Linked DNA regions of Homo sapiens: region 2 is linked to region 1. The links are contacts of gene promoters, found by promoter capture Hi-C in human tissues and cell types (Jung and others, 2019). All regions are on one chromosome and are shown on one strand. The core of a region is centred on a gene start or on the middle of the fragment in contact, and the rest is flanking DNA. Distances in the headings are between cores, read along the strand shown.

What was found. Contacts are between HindIII fragments. The study calls those that stand out against the background at their distance.
Region 2: a contact is called between a fragment that was not itself captured here and the fragment with the promoter of BUB1 in region 1, in 1 of the 25 tissues and cell types used here (aorta).

Annotation. Positions count from the first base shown.
Region 1 is chr2:110,676,801-110,679,942 of GRCh38, forward strand. BUB1 (BUB1 mitotic checkpoint serine/threonine kinase) reads right to left here and starts at 1,263. Exons shown (of 25, transcript NM_004336.5): 1 at 1,170-1,263. The coding sequence starts at 1,195. LOC105373554 (a long non-coding RNA gene) reads left to right here and starts at 1,412. Exons shown (of 2, transcript XR_923189.4): 1 at 1,412-1,797. RefSeq lists enhancers at 519-1,439, 1,440-2,360, 1,873-1,932, 2,193-2,282 and a silencer at 963-1,362. The HindIII fragment of the contact is 12,584 bases long and covers 1-3,142 here.
Region 2 is chr2:111,696,133-111,699,130 of GRCh38, forward strand. No RefSeq gene overlaps it. Among named protein-coding and RNA genes, the nearest start is that of MIR4771-2, 74 kb to the right of the region's middle. The HindIII fragment of the contact is 6,648 bases long and covers 1-2,998 here.

The DNA.
Region 1 (3,142 bases), core at 13-2,512:
AAAAGAAACTAGAAAAACGGTTACATGTGACAGAGTGGGACAGTAGTCAGGTACAGGAGTTCTCGGTAAATACTGTTCTAAATCTTCTTTTAGTCATATAAACGCATTGCTTATTTTTAAAACTAAAAAAAATAATAATTCTGAAGTTTGAATGTCTCTCATGTCTTATAGCAGAGGGACAAATCCCTATTTCAGAACCTTTCTTCCAAAATATGTCTAGTAGGCTCGCCCAAGGTAAACATTTCATATTCTAACACCAACCACATTTCTCTAGTAAAATGACCTAAATGCACTGTAATAGTAAAACATCCAGTTCATTAAAGCACATTAATCTTTAGTAAGTCAAAACAGGACCAGGAATATCTGCTTTACCTTTAAAAAAGGGGCGGGGGACTTCTGAAAGAAAATAATTTGCTGGCTAGGTTGAAGGTTACAGAAAAAGTCTTAGAGCAAATGGATTTTTGTTTTGACTGCATTTAACAATCTCGGTCTTCTGATCGCAAAGAACTGATAAAACGGACCAGTTTTACTTCCTGAACCTATGACTTAATTGTTTTAAATGCCTTTAAGTAACAGTCTGGGTAAATCATCTAAGTCATAAAACAAAGGCGTGGGAACTTTAAGTAAAAAGTGAGTGATGTTAGCAGGTTGGCACACATCACTCAATAATGAGCAAAGCTATTTTTTTTCAATTTTTTTTTCTTAAAGTACCCTGTATTCAAAGACTTTTAAAAAATAGCAGTGAGATTATGGATAGGAGAGCAACTTTAAATTCGTTCCCTACTGTAGTCGAATTGTTAAATACGTGACTTTGAAAACGTATCACAAAATCTAAACACAAGGTTCAGGATTTTTGTTAGGTTGAACTGTCAGGAGGGGATTCCTTACAAAGAATAAACGAGAGCTCTGAGGGCCTAACGAATTATCCAGATTGCTCCAAACGGCCACCGCGGCGCAGATGGGCGGACAAGCGCCGGGCCTCAGCGGAACCCAAGGTGCCGGAGCCCTCCCCGGCTCTCAAGCAGCCCACGGCCTTGCTGGGTGGGACACATTCCAAACCCAGGAAGGGGGCGAAGGGGGCAAAAGAAGGCAGGTCTGGGGCGGGCCGGGCCCGAACCCCAGGCGCCCCAGCCCCCTGGGCTTCCCCACCCCACCAGACGGACACTTACTGAAGGACATTTTCCGGGGTGTCCATGGCCAGAGGACGCTGGCCGGCAGCGGCCAAACCTGAACCGCAAACTAGAAGCCGCCGCCGATTCGAATACCCCGCGCAGCCGCAGTCGGCTCGCCGAACGTTTCAGGGCGCCTGCCCATTGGTGGCGGCGGCAGAAGGTTGGCCAATCACCGGGGCCGTTGCTCGGAGGTCAAGTCCCACCTCCCTCCCTTGAGCCAGTAGCTCCTCCCACTTCCCGTGGTTTTCGGTTGAACCGAAACCTGGCCGTTGGCTGAGCGAGCGCGGGGTGTTTGGGATGCGGCACGGCGAGGGGGAGCAGGCTTGGCTCGGGCGTAGGGAATTGGTTTTTTTGTTTTAGCTATCCAGGTTGTGACTGGTTTACATAATTACACGATTAAGCCATCATTGTAGGAAAGGCTTTGCAGGAGAAAAATGTCTTAACTGGAGGTCTTTGAGACAGAAAAACCCTGCCTCAGCCCTTGGGTCCTGAGAGTCGCGTTTCTTCTCCCCTTCGCTTAAATATGTAAACCAGAATCATTATGTTTGGTTCATGGAACGGAGGAAAAAAATCCGTGTGCAGGGTCGAGACTGTCGTGGCGGAAGCCGCAGCACCCGGGAGGCAGGTGGGGAGAAAAAACGGGACCTGCTGCCGGGGACCCCTCCCGCTTTCTGGCAGTTTTCTATTCAGCGTCCTCGGCTGTGAGAAAACATCCCAGATGCTGAAACCAATAGTCTTAGCCCAGAATCTCAAACGCCGTGGCAAAGAGGGAGTGACGACGGCCTGTGGAAAAACCTGAGGAGTTTTGGGCTTAGCGCCTTCATGTAGAGGGGACGTGGAGGCGGGGAGGGCGTTCTAGGGTCGGCTGCGTAATTATACGAGGCACTGGAAAGTGATGGGTTAGTGTCCTTGGAGTAGACCCCTGGGTTTTATTGAACTGATCTGAAAGGCTGGGCCCTGAGCCACACAGGGGACCTGTCAAACAGCTTCAAGCGGAAGATGGGGCTCACGGGACTGGACTCTCTCTGCAGCCAGCTGTAATTAACACAAAAGCAGAAGAGTTTGGGTAGATTATAGAATGCCAGCTTTGAACATCTTTTGGGGGACAGGGCACTCTGGGAGACCAAGTTCTTAGACACCATAAAATCAAAAATAGACACCTCTTTGTAGAGGAGTCCAGATGTCTAAAGAGGAAATATGTAATAGGCTGATGTTTCTTTTGTTTTTTGTTTGTTTGTTTTTTGAAAAGTTAAAATACTAAGTTTATAAAGTGAAAAAGTTACAGTAAGCTAAGGTTGACTTATTGGAAAAAATGTGCTTATACTATGGAATGAGACCACCACTTCTCCTGTTGTCCCTCCCAGCTTCTTCTCCACCACCTCCCCTTTTCCCTAGTTTATAAGACAGGAGAAAAGTGAGACAGCAAAAAGTTAGAAAGAAACAGAAGTAAGATAAATAGCTAGACGACCTTGGCGCCACCACCCGGCCTTGGTGGTTAAAATAATAATAATAATGTTAACCCCTGACCAAAACTACTTGTGTTATCTGTAAGTTCCAGACATTGTATGAGAAAGCGCTGTAAAACTTTTTGTTCTGTTAGCCGATGCATGTAGCCCCCAGTCACGTTCCCCACGCTTGCTCCATCTATCACAACCGTTTCACATGGACCCCCCCCTTCAAGTTGTAAGCCCTTAAAAGGGCTAGGAATTTCTTTTTTGGGGAGCTCGGCTTTTAAGATGCGAGTCTGCCAACGCTCTCGGCCGAATAAACTTCTTCCTTCTTTAATCCAGTGTCAGGAGTTTTGTCTGCGGCTCGTCCTGCTACAATATGTATATCAAGGGTTTCTTGTTGGTGTCTGACACAGACACAGAACCACTGATGCCCAAGCCAGTGCTCTCTACACACAGAAGCCTCCAACCTCATCTTGAGAAACGGGGCCATGAGGCCACCCCAGACACCGAGGGCTCCAT
Region 2 (2,998 bases), core at 52-2,551, 1.0 Mb after region 1:
TTATGTCTGCACAAAAACCTTTATACAAATATTCATTGTTACTTTATTTATAATAATAGCCAAAAACTGGAAACAACCAAAATATCCTTCAATGAGTGAATAGTTGAGCAAACTGTAGTATATCCATGCCATGGATGTATTAGTCAGGGTTCTCTAGAGAAACAGAACCAATAGGTGTGCATCTGCATGCATGTGCGAGCGTGTGTGTGTGTGTGTAAAGAGAGAGAGAGATTTATTTTAAGAATTGCCTCACATGATTATGGAGGCTGGCAAGCCCAAAATCTGCAAGGTAGGCTGCCAGGCTGGAATGAGTTGAGGTTGCAGCTCAAGTCTCAAAGCAGTCAGCTGGCAGAATTCCCTCTTCCTTGGGTAACATCAGTCTTTGTTCTATTAAGGCCTTCAAATGATTGGATGAGGCCCACCCACATTATAGAGAATAGTCTGCTTTACTCAAAGTCTACCGATGTAAATGTTAATCTCATCTTAAAAATACTTTCACAGAGACCGGGCGCAGTGGCTCACGCCTGTAATCCCAGCACTTTGGGAGGCCGATGTGGGTGGATCACGAGGTCAGGAGATTAAGACCATCCTGACTAAAGTGGTGAAACCCCGTCTCTATTAAAAAATACAAAAAATTAGGCAGGCGTGGGCTGGGCACGGTGGCTGACGCCTGTAATTCCAGCACTTTGGGAGGCCGAGGTGGGCGGATCACAAGGTCAGGAGATCAAGACCATCCTAACACGGTGAAACCCCGTCTCTACTAAAAATACAAAAAATTAGCCTGGCGCAGTGGCGGGCGCGTGTAGTCCCAGCTACCTCAGGAAGCTGAGGCAGGAGAATGGTGTGAACCCCGGAGGCAGAGCTTGCAATGAGCCGAGATTGCGCCACTGCACTCCAGCCTGGGCAACAGAGCGAGACTCTGTCTCAAAAAAAAAAAAAAAAATACTTTCACAGAAACATCCAGAATAACGCATGACCAAATATCTGGGTACCATGACCTAGCCAAGTTGGCACATAAAATTAATGACCACCATGGCGTACTACTCAGCAACAAAAAAGAATGGACTATTGATATATGCCACAACTTGGATGGGTCTCTAGGGAATCCTGCTGAGTGAAAAAAAACAAAAAAACAAAAAACCCAGTCTCCAGCTGGGCATGGTGGCTCACACCTGTAATTCAAGCACTTTGGGAGGCCAAGGCCGGCAGATCACTTGAGGCCAGGAGTTTGAGACCAGCCTGGCCAACATGATGAAACCCCATCTCTACTGAAAATACTATATAAAAATTAGCCAAGAGTGGTGGCACATGCCTGTAATCCCAGCTACTTGAGAGACTGAGGCACGAGAGTTGCTTTAACCCAGGAGGCAGAGGTTGCAGTGAGTCAAGATCACGCCACTGCACTCCAGCCTGGGCAACAGAGCCAGACTCTGTCTCAAATAAATAAATTAATTAAATAAAATCCAGCCTCAAAAGGTCATATATTGTGTGATTCCATTTATATAACATTTCTAAAATATAGACACGGAGAACAGATTAGTGGTTACGGGGGTTGGGGACGATGGGGGCGGAGGGGGTGTGACTGCGGAGGGGAAGCGCAGTGTCCCTTTGTGGCGACGAATCAGTTCTGTGTCCTGATTGTGGTAGTGGTTTCAGTGCTCTCCACATGTAATAAAATGTCATAAAACTATACACACACAATATACCAATGCCAGGTTCCTGGTTTGGGTACTGTACTATAATTATATAAGATATAACCAATGGGGGAACCTGGGTGGAGGGTACCCAGGACCTCTCTGTACTATGTTTACAACTTCATATGAGTCTATAATTATTTCAAAGTAAAAATTTAAAAAAACAAGAAGATACATAGCAGAGAGTCAATATACACATTTTCAACAATAAACATGTAGACCTCCTGAAAAAAACAAGCTTTTTTTTTTCCTTTTCCTCTTAACAAGGATGTGCACAACTTTTCCCTTGGAAGGAACTTAGACACACACCAATTAACCCCGTGATGCCTGTCAGTAATGTTGGAGGAAGAGAGACAGGGCCTCTCAGGTGCAAGAATTAGGATGTCCCCAGCCTGAATGCCAAGAAACTCCTGTGGCAGCCAAGCCCCCAGGGTGTCAGACCCCTGAAGGGAAGTCTGAGCTCCTCTTTCTTTCCTTAAGTGATCCTGGGAGAGGTCACAGGGCAGCAGGGCCGGGAAAATGGCACGTGGAAAGCGGTCACTTCAGAACCAGAAGGTGTTCTTTTCCATCTCATCACCTTCTTAAGACAAACCACTTTCCCTCCTTTTCAGTTCTATCTGAACCAACAGCTACAAATAAATAAACACCACTGTTTGCAAAGGCCACAGAGATTAATATTATTATTAATATTAATAGTATTAATGGAGTCTAATCATAGTAAATACATAGAGATGAAAGATCTTTCCCAAAGCAAGTTATTGATAACTATTAGGGTTGACAACTGAAAGATACATTTGCAATTTATTTTTGAAGCCACATAGATTCATTTCAGCCGACCCTCTAGTTATGGGACTAGACCACATTCAAGTTGCCTTTCAAATAGTACTGTAAAATTAAAATTTAAAAAGCATGTAGACGTGACTTTAAGGGACACTCAAGGAACTACCAAACAAGAGCTCGGCAGCCAACACCCTTTAGTGAAAAGGGTAGGACAGTTTGGGGTTGGCACCTGGGAAAATGGTCCACATGATGACCTTTGCAGGGGTGCTGCCCTGTCCTGTTCCCAGCAGCCTCGCCCCCTTTCTTGCCCGGCTCGCTCCTCCTCCTCCTCTGACCCTGTCAGTCAGGCGTTAACTGACCTTCCCAGGGCTGGGCACCTTCTATAGGAGCTTCCTCCCCTTCTCCCCGTCCATGGGAATGAGTCAGCAGGGTTTGGTTGGCTCCACTTCCTGCCTGTGGTTATTATAGCTGACTCATCAGACCATCCTGGGTACACAGTTCAGAGTCTTGATGCAATTCACTTC